Regions from separate parts of the Homo sapiens genome. Here region 1 is linked to region 2. Evidence: promoter capture Hi-C in human tissues and cell types (Jung and others, 2019). All regions are on one chromosome and are shown on one strand. Each heading gives the region's core, a stretch centred on a gene start or on the middle of the fragment in contact. The rest is flanking DNA. Distances are from core to core; before and after follow the strand shown.

Region 1 (5,039 bases), core at 567-3,066, 520 kb after region 2:
ACTTGAGCCCAGGAGGTGGAGGTTGCAGTGAGCCAAGATCAGGACACTGCACTCCAGCCTGGGCAACAGAACAAGACTCTGTCTCAAAAAAATAAATAAAGTGACAGGAGGGTATTGCCAATTACGTGTTTGAGGAATTAAAAAGGTTCCAAAAATAAACACACACCAAAAATACTAAAAGTAGAATTGCTCCCATCCTTCCCTTTAAAAAAAAATATAATTTTGACAGAAAAAATAACTTTACCTTGGTAGCCCCATCCCCAGGAACTGATTTTAATGAGAGCTGAAATAAAATAAAGACACTAATTTAAAAACAGAACTGACTCCAAGTTCTAAAACAAAATGAAAACACCTTATGCAGAGAACTCCAGCTTACCTCAGCTCTGACATACGCTTTTCTTATTTTAAATCCCAATTTCTGAGCTAGTTCTTGAGTTAGTTTTATTACATGCTCATCCTGAAAAAAATAAGTATGTATAATTAACAGGGTTATATTTACTAATGGTGAAGAAGAATAGACAAAACAGGGAAGTTTCCCATCAAGACACCTGCTTCATTAGCATTTATACCCAACTGAAGCAGGTTGATGGATGACTGGAAAATTTAACTCTTTAAATGCCATTTATTATGATGTAAATGGTTACGATGTAAACAAATAAACTATAAATTCCATACCTGAGGCACTGCTAAGGAGCACTTTGCTACAGCATCGTAAGCCTTTTTGTATCTTCCTAAATCACTTAAAGCCTTAGATTTCCGATACAGAGCTTTGCAGTTACTGGCATTTAAACTGAGGACTATATTGCAGTCCTCCAAAACTTTATCATGGAAACCCTGGTGTGTAAGACCAAAGAATAAAGTCAGCAATCAAACAATTCATTTCTTGCACTGAGGCCTTCCTGTAATAAAAACAAATTAATACCCCATCCTATTACCCTCCCTCTAAACTCCAAGTTAGCAGTATTACTTTTATTTTTTAAATTATTTTATGAAATTTCAAATACAAAAAAGTAGAAAGAATATCATGAATACCCATGTACACACCATCCAGGTCAGACAAATGCTAATATTTGGTCAGAAAGTCCCCAGATCTTCAAGAAATAAAGCTTTCCAGACCTAACTGATGTCCCCATGTGTCCCTCTCCTATTCGCTCCTCTGTAGTTACCCTTTGCTGGAGCACATTAAGATGTCAAACAGAAACGTAACTCCAAACAGCTAACTGATAAGGAATATATTACCCAAAACAAAATAAATAAACAATGAATGCTCTTTAACAAAGAGCTAGGTGACAACACGGATATTTTTCTTAAATTCATGGTTATATTTTACCGAGTATCCACAGTGAAAATTAAAAGCACTTCAGGTTGGGCACAGTGCCTCACAGCTGTAGTCCCAGCACTTTGGGAGGCCGAGGTGGGTGGATCACCTGAGGTCAGGAGTTCGAGACCAGCCTGGCCAACATGGTAAAAACCCCATCTCTACTAAAAATACAAAAATTAGCCAGGCGTGGTGGCGGGTGCCTATAATCCCAGCACTCGGGAGGCTGAAGCAGGAAAATCACTTGAACCCAGGAGACAGAGGATACAGTAAGCCGAGATTGTGCCACTGCATTACAGCCTGGGCAACAGAGTGACACTCCATCTCAAAAATTTAAAAAAGGTGGCCAGGCGTGGTGGCTCATGCCTGTAATCCCAGCACTTTGGGAGGCTGAGGCGGGCAGATCACCTGAGGTCAGGAGTTCGAGACCAGCCTGACCGACATGGAGACACCCCGTCTCTACTAAAAATACAAAATTAGCCAGGTGTGGTGGTACATGCCTGTAATCTCAGCTACTCGGGAAGCTGAGGCAGGAGAATCTCTTGAACCCGGGAGACGGAGGTTACGGTGAGCCAAGATTGTGCCATTGCACTCCAGCCTGGGCAACAAGAGTGAAACTCTTGTCTCAAAAAAAAAAAAAAAAGTTTTAAAAGGAAAAAAAGAAAAAAAAGCACTTCAAAAGCTTTTAAGCTTAAAAATGTGAAAATCTAGTGTGAATTCCTTTGAAGACTAATTACTATTTCTTGATTTAAAAAAACACTCGCCAGGCACGGTGGCTCACGCCTGTAATCCTAGCACTTTGGGAGGCTGAGGCGGGCAGATTGCCTGAATTCAGGAGATCGAGAACAGCCTGGGCAACACAGTGAAACCCCATCTCTAACAAAATACAAAAAATTTGCTGGGCACGGCGGCATGCGCCTGTAGTCCCAGCTACTCGGGAGGCCGAGGCAGGAAAATTGCTTGAACCCAGGAGGCGGAGGTTGCAGTGAGCCGAGATCGTGCCACTGCACTCCAGCCTGGGTGACAGAGCGAGACACTGTCTCAAAAAAAAAAAAAAAAAAAAAAACACTCGTAAGAGTGTTTTTTACCAAGAGTGTTTTACAAGATCAACTGGATCTTGACTAAGATGTTAACTGTGAACAGGGATACCTGAAAGACACACTGACCTGTGAAGACCTGTATCTTCCCTGGATGACTTTTTTATAAGCAGACACACCTTCAAAAGCCATACTCAAATGGGAATCATCAAGGACCAATAACTAAGAAACAAATTATTTCTTAAATCCCTAACCTTCTGTCCAAAGCTAATTTTTATTTTTTTATTTTATTTTATTTTTTGAGACGGAGTCTTGCTCTGTCGCCCAGGCTGGAGTGCAGTGGCACAATCTCGGCTCACTGCAAGCTTCGCCTCCTGGGTTCAAGCGATTCTCCTGCCTCAGCCTCCCGGGCAGCTGGGACTACATGCACACGCCACCATGCCCAGTTAATTTTTTTATTTTTAGTAGAGACGGGGTTTCACCATATTGGCCAGGCTGGTCTCAAACTCCTAACCTCATGATCCACCCACCTTGGCCTCCCAAAGTGCTGGGATTACAGGCGTGAGCCACCGTGCCCGGCCAATCCAAAGCTAATTTTTAAAAGCCTCAAGCCACTCCAAAAGCAGGTAATATGACTTTCTTAAAAACTTAAGAAATTGACTTTTTATTAATGTACTAAGTCATTGAAAAAATTCTTTTCACTCTAGAAACATCATTTTAAAAATTACAACTCACCATATTAGAATAGCAGGCAATACGATTTATATATAGTTTTTCAATTATTTCTTTGGGGATTAAAATTTCTTCAGATTTTGCATAATCAGCTATATTCAAGGCTTCCGTGTACTGGCTTATCGAGTTGTTCCAATCATGTTCCCGATAAACGTCATTTCCTTCATTAAAAAGATTTCTCACGAGAGCACGCAAATATACCTAAAAAAAAGAAAGTTACCACTTGAAGCCTTTTATCAAACAAGATATGGTATAAGTAAATTTTAATTTTTATACCTAAAACTTCACAGGAAACAATGTGACAGAACAGCAGCATTGCTCTAAGAAATTGTGAGATGCAGCCCAAGTCACTGCTATCTCAGCTAGGGATTGAATCTTGCTTGCTTTTTCAAGGGGAAATTCAATTTCTCACTATTAAGAAAAATGCAGCAAAGTACCTTATAAATATTTGTTCACATCTCCAATTCTGTGCCCGCTAGAGAAACCAAGTGGAAGCCCCAAGTCAAAGAGAATGAATAGTTTAAGGCTTTTGAGCAGTATTTCCAAATTGCCTTCCAAAAAGGCCATGATGAAAAATGTTTCTAGTGGTTTACTTTATAGCACCCATACACACTAGGTAGTGTGTGTGTGTGTACACGTGTGTGGGTACCCGTGCACATATATGTAAAATCTACCAATTTCTAGGTGGAAAATGGTATCGTTTTGTGTTTATTTATTTTTTTTAATGGTATCCTCTTTGTATGTGCATGTCTTTACCAGTGAAGTTGAACTATTCCACATTTTTACGGACCCCTTGTATTTCTTTTTCTGTAAATTGCTCAGGTCATTTACTGATTTGGGGGGAGGGGGATGTTAAACTTTTTTCTTATCAAGTAAGTATACACATTCTTTTAGCATGTATAAAAGTTTGTCATTTTCCTTCATTATTTCTATCACGCTTTAGTTTAGTTCTTTTTTTTCTTTTCTTTTTTTTTTTTGAGACAGAGTCTTACTCTGGCACCCAGGCTGGAGTGCAGTGGCACGATCTCGGCTCTCTGCGACTTCACCTCCTGAGTTCAAGTGATTCTCGTGTCTTAGCCTCCCGAGTAGCTGGGATTACAGGCACCTGCCACCACACTCGGCTAATTTTTGTATTTTTAGTAGAGACAGGGTTTCGCCATGTTGCCCAGGCTGGTCTCAAACTCCTGGTCTCAAGTGATCCGCCTGCTTCAGCCTCCGAAAATGCTGGGATTACAGGTGTGAGCCACCACGCCTGGCCATAATTTAGTATTTTAAAAGCTCTTTTTCATCACAAGATCAGAAAAATATTCAACTTGTTTTGTCTCATTTTATGAATTCCTGTCTAAGCTGATTAAATTATTTTAGCTGATTAAATTATTTTAGAAGACTGGACGGATCAACTATTAACAAAACTCGTGACATGCCACTTAACATCTTTAGACCCCAGGTCCACGTGCAAAATGAAACAACTGTTACAGTTTATTTCTGGCTCTAATACTTTTTTATTCCAAATCTGTTTGTAGAGAGCTAAGGAACAAGAGAGAAGAAAAGGGGAGGAGGGAGAGAGGCAGCAAGAAAGTGACATTTAGAAGCCTCAAAACCCTCAGAGGAAAAAAAACACAGGTGAACCAATAGTTAGTAGAGACAAGAGTCTGCAGTCAAAGTCCCAATAAACTGGGCTTTCTCCCTGTTCCTAAACAGCAGATCACTAGTTCTTCCCTCTTGGTATCCAGTCCCCCTTAGCTGCTGTCAGAACATCTCCTAACAGAAAAAAATGTTCCACACACTCTTTCTCAATAAATTCTGTCCCACTTATTTTCAATGACATGAGAAGTAATTTTCAAGTGGCTCAAAAGATAAATTAATTCAAAACCACCCTAATAGAGGAAAGAAAATACAGGGCAACTGTGCAAGTATGCAAAAAAAGAAAAAGAAAAAGAAAAAAAAAGTCC
Region 2 (5,285 bases), core at 2,222-4,721:
CTACATAGAAATATGAGCAGCTGCTATTATTACTGCAGCGGTTAGGTCCTCCGGTTGCCTAGTGGTACCCAGCCTCTGAAAAAGTCCTGAGTGGGTTTGCAAAACCTGGCTCCACCCCTTGTTGTGGTCCTGCTTTGCCTCTTGGAGCCCGTTTTCCCATCTGTAAAATGGGGCCAGCACAGCCACTGAGTGGTCACTAAGGGTCTGTGAGTATACTAGTATTACAACCAGATCCCCAAGCATTGCCATCTTGGATTTCTGTTTCTCCAGACACTGCCCACAGCAGGCAACAGACAGGAAAGAACAAGGACAGGACTTAATTAATCCACAGCAGAGAAGAAAGGGCAGGGGTGTGGCAAAAAAAAAAAAAGAAAAGAAAAGAAAAGAAAAGAAAAGAAAAAGCAAGATTTTTGGAGATAGAGACAAGACATCACCTCCTTCCCTCCCACTTCACCTTATTAAGGGATGAAATTGCCAAAGCTCTCTGAGATCCTAAATCTCTTCTGGCCATCCTTAAAGTCCTGGAGCCTACTTAATCCCCAAGACAGGCCTGGGCTGCTCTGACTCTCTGACCATCAAGTTAATTTTATGTTGTACTTTCAAGTCTGAAAAGTATTATTAAGCATTAGAACACTATTATATGTGTCTCCAAGGCTGAAGAGGGCCACTCTATCTTCTAAAGATGAAGTATGACGTGTCCACCAGGCTGCTTAACCCTAAATCTGAAAATGACTCAGTTCACCATGTGTTGAGTACAACCCTCAAGTTACCACCATGGCCCATGTGTCAGGCTGGCCAAAGACACAGAAGTTGCCAGAAACCCAGGTCCTGGACACTTTCTGGTGCTGTGGGCCAGCCCCACAAACGTCCTGGAGCCACTCTTCCCTTCCCTGGCTCCTGAAAACATCCACCTCCTCTATGATGCGCAGAAAGTTGCCCTTAGAAAGGTGGAGGCCCAGGGAGGCAAGGGGAATTGCCCTAGCCGCCAGCAGCACCCTCCCGCCACCACAGACCACACAGTCTCCTTCTGGCTCCAAGTTGTGTGTTCACCAAAAAGTACACAAGACAGAGCAGGGTGAGAAGAAGGAAGCTAGACCCAGCCCTGTATCCCCCATCTCATCTCAACTGAGTATCCCTTGATGCTGGTTCAGAATGTGCCACTCCTCTGTCCAAAAACTCACTAAGCCCCCACCCCCACCCCTTCCTGGAAGCTGTTGTGGTCATAGAACCAAAGAAGTTTCCTCTCTGTTATCCATTTCAAGCAGATGTTTAGTGGACAGCCAAAAAAAGGCCCAAGTGTTGTCTTTGACAGGAATGGCCACAGGCAGATTTACTCAGTTTTCCCTTCTGTAGAATGGAAATAAGAGCCCGTGCCTCACAGGGTTGTGCCTCTCTTTATAGGATTAAGTAAATTTAAGTATGCAAAGCACAGAATTAGGGCTGGCACGCACAAAGTGCTCAAACGCGAGCTGCTGTCTTACCGGACACACGCCAAAACTAGACCAACCGTTTCTCTCCCTGGAGAGTTGTGGGTGGAACCGTGAGGGATGCCCAGCCACAGGGCAGGCCCCGTACACCACCTGCAGCCCAGCAGGTCAGCCTTAGGACCCTCTCCCCTGGACCTGTTCAGAACCAAGTTAAACTTTTGGCCAAAGCACACTCGCTAGAAAACTTATTTTTTTTTAAAAAAAAAACTTTCATAATAAAGTTTATTACCTAAACTGACTTTAAAAAATATAAAATAGGATTCTGCACAGCAGAAAAATAAAGCCAGAGACCCTCCCCCAACCCCTGGTTTGTGCAAAGATACTGGGTATATGTAAACATGAAGAGGTAGGAGGTGCGAGTTCAGGTCCTGGCTCCAGATACAGTTAAGCTGCTACAACAACCAGGGGGACCCAGAGGGAGCACCAGGAGGGGGAGGACCCCCTCAAGAGGTGAGAAGGGGTCTGCGGCCTCGTCTCCAGCCGAGGGCGGGAGGCGCCTCGCCCCTACACCCATCCGCTCCCTCCAACCCAGGCCGGGGAGGGTACCCACATGGTTCCAGGCAAGTAATAACAAAATAACACGGCATCCCAGTTAATGCTGCGTGCACGGCGGGCGCTGCCGGTCAAATCTGGAAGGGGAAGGAGCTCAGGTAGTCGCGGAGGACGGGGTTGAGGGGGATGCGAGCCAGGTTCTCGCGGCCCACGGTGGCCACGATGCGCTGGCGGCACAGCTCCTGCAGCGGCCGCACGCGGCGCTGGCGCAGCGGGGCCCCCAGCATGCGGCGCGGCGCCGCCACGTAGTGCTCCAGCAGCTCGAAGAGGCAGTCGAAGCTCTCGCGGCTGCCATCCAGGTGAAAGCGGCCGGCCTGAAAGTGCACGCGGATGCTCGTGGGTCCCGAGGCCATCTTCACGCTAAGGGCGAAAAAGCAGTTCCGCTGGCGGCTGTCGCGCACCAGGAAGGTGCCCACGGGCTCGGCGCGCAGCCGCTCGTGCGCCCCGTGCACGCTCAGGGGCCCCCAGTAGAATCCGCAGGCGTCCAGGAGCGCGCTGGCGCGCGTGATGCGCCGGTAATCGGCGTGCGAACGGAATGTGCGGAAGTGCGTGTCGCCGGGGGCCGGGGCCGGGACCGCGGGGCACGGCCGCGGGCGCGCGGGGGCCGCGGGCGAGGAGGAGGAAGAGGAGGAAGGTTCTGGCCGCCGTCGGGGCTCTGCTGCTGTGGAGACTGCATTGTCGGCTGCCACCTGGTTGTGTGCTACCATCCTACAGAAGGGGCCAGCCGGAGGGGTGGGCCATAGCGTCCGGGGGTGCGCTGCGGGAGAGACAAAGAGGTGAGCTGGGGCGCTGCGGGGCCGGGCAGGTGTGCGCCGGCCGGACAACTCCGGAGGGCGGCGCTCCCGGCGGACCCGGCCCTAGGGGGCGAGCACGGAGCACCAAGTCCGCGCGGATCCGTTCAGCCTCAGTGGACACAGCTAGAAAATGGGCTCTGTACTCCGCGGAGCTCTTCCCGGCGGGTGGGGGCTCGGTGGAGGCGGAGTCCGGCCTCCGGGCAGCACCGAGAGGGGGGCGTGGAGAGCAGCCGGTTCTGGCTCCAGCCGTCCGGCCCCGGCTCGCCGCCCCGCGCCCGCCGCCTGCTGGCCAGGCTGGGATCCGCGCCTGGTCTGGGCGATTTGGGCTAGGGCCGGAGAAAGGCTGTGCTGCGGGAGCCCCGCGCGCGGGGGGCGGCCTGGGTGGGGCCGGCGAGGGTCAGGGGCATCGCGGCCGCGACCCCATTCTGCAGCCCCCGAGGCTCGCCCGACTCCTGGCTGCCCTGGACTCCCCTCCCTCCTCCCTCCCGCCTCCTCGCCCAGGGCCCGGCTCACCTGGCGGCGGGGCGCGGGACGCCGCGGGCGGGACGGCGGGGGGCTCCGGGGCGCTCCGGGGCGGCTCTCGCGCATGCTCCGGGGCCAGGAGCCGTGCAGCTGCCACGGCCGCAGCTCGCTCTGTTCGGCGCCCGCCCCTGCGCCAGTCTTTTAAACCGGCTCGGAGGCGGGGCTGGCGACGGCGGGAGGCCCCGCCCCCTGCCGGCCCCGCCCCCAGCTCCACTTTTGGTTTCTCTTTCCGCGGTGGCGTCCGGCGAGGACCGCTTCGGCCCTGTTTCCCTCTCTTCTGGACCCTCCCGCGGGGCCCTCTGCCCGCCTGTTCGCACCTGCCCCAGCACCCGCCTCTCGAGGGGCTCTGGCCCCGACCCTGCGCCTTCCGGCCACTTCTCGGACCCCTCCTTCGGACTTGGCGACCCCGATTTTGCCCCGCTACCTCGGGTTCCACTTTCTGCCGCCAGGCCCTCTTGGGACGCGCCCTGACACACCCTCCTCCGCCCCAGCTGTCTCCACACCCGCCGGGGGCAGAGCCCTGTCCTCTCCTCCCCTGCAGCCAGATCCCCCTAGGAGGCCACAGAAGGTGTCCCCAACCCTGAGCCTGACCCCACCCGTAGACCCCCTCCTAGCCCCTGCTCCACCCGCCGTCGACGCCCTCAGTCGCCCGCCCTGCTGTCCCGAAGCCCCGGCCGGCCGCGGTCTCTGGTCTTGGCTCGGGCTTCCCGGGAAGCGGCGGCCTGACCACAGGCTTCAGAGGAACCCCTGGCGGCGCGGGCGCCTCCACCCCGGCCCAGTTCCTCGGAAACTGGGCGGGGCCGGGCAAGGTCCCTGGTGGCCTCGACTGCCCTCCCTGCGCTCCCACTACCCGGCTGCGGAAGAAACTGAGGCTGGGGAGGGGCTGGGATTTGCAATGGCTTGCAGATTGGGAGCTCTGGACCTGGATCTCGCCTTCCCCGTCTTCATTTTGGGGAGAGGTGCAGCTGGACGACATCAAATTGGAGCCCAGTGAAAAAATGGTGCATTCTCAGACGTGATGAATCCCCAAACCTGGTTTCCTAGCCCTCCTCTCCCCCGACCCCTTCCTCATAGATTTCCCCCTCCTACTGCTCCGTCAGGCATCTGCCCTTCAAAGACTGCCTTCCCACCACACACACGGCCGGGGCTTGGGATGGTGGGCGGTCGGTGGTCGGGGCTGTAATTTGCACACGTGTTTGTGATTTAGTGATTCCGATTGTCGTGCGAGGCCATGGAGTAGGTGCCTGGCTGCTCCGTGTATTTTTGAATGAAGGCATGTGAGGAGCCCCAGCATCACAAGGGGCCACATAAAAACCTGGCTAGGCTGGGCACTTGGTTACTGGCCTCACACTGGGACACACTGCCCTCTACAGACAGCTCTCAGACGGCTTCTCTCCTGGAAGCCCTGGTGCCCAGTCCCTTCCCGCCTCCCTGGCCCCACGATACCTCTTTCCCCAGGCAGAGCCTAGGTCCTTATTAACCTCCTGAACACAGGGAGTGGCCCAGAATCAGCCCAGCTTAGCACCCCATCAGTGCCCTGAATCTGCATGTGGCCAGGGCTGGTGGTGGTCATTGGTGTAGCCTCCTAGGTTGTGCGTGTGTGTGCGTGCGCGTGCGTGAGGGGGTGAGAGAAGATGCAGAACCTTGCCTGCACCAGAGGTCAGGTGTGTGATCATTCGAGAGATGTCCACTGAACATCTGCTGGAGGCCACACTCTGTGGAGGGTGATGGAATACAAGGAGACCCAGTTCCAAATCTGCACCTTTCTATTCTTGTGACCTTGAGCATGTAATTAACCTCTCTGCCATGGTTTCTTTATCTGTGAAATGGGGATAATAATAGTACCTCTAGCAGGGCGCAGTAGCTCATGCCTATAATCCCAGCACTTGGAAGGCCAAGACAGGAGGATTGCTTGAGCCCAGGAGTTTGA

What was found. Contacts are between HindIII fragments. The study calls those that stand out against the background at their distance.
Region 1: a contact is called between a fragment that was not itself captured here and the fragment with the promoter of SOCS1 in region 2, in 1 of the 25 tissues and cell types used here (aorta).

The regions. Positions count from the first base shown.
Region 1 is chr16:11,776,076-11,781,114 of GRCh38, forward strand. ZC3H7A (zinc finger CCCH-type containing 7A) reads right to left here. Exons shown (of 23, transcript NM_014153.4): 4 at 3,091-3,288; 5 at 676-834; 6 at 377-457; 7 at 245-283. Among named protein-coding and RNA genes, the nearest start is that of ZC3H7A, 19 kb to the right of the region's middle. The HindIII fragment of the contact is 4,281 bases long and covers 1-3,957 here.
Region 2 is chr16:11,252,733-11,258,017 of GRCh38, forward strand. It overlaps SOCS1 (suppressor of cytokine signaling 1), which reads right to left and starts at 3,472. Exons shown (of 2, transcript NM_003745.2): 1 at 3,347-3,472; 2 at 1,685-2,796. The coding sequence starts at 2,746. The coding sequence ends at 2,111. The region is part of intron 1 of LOC105371082 (a long non-coding RNA gene); the gene reads left to right. RefSeq lists an enhancer at 1,338-1,507 and silencers at 2,118-2,207, 2,618-2,767, 2,778-2,827, 2,928-3,667, 3,918-4,117. The HindIII fragment of the contact is 22,451 bases long and covers 1-5,285 here.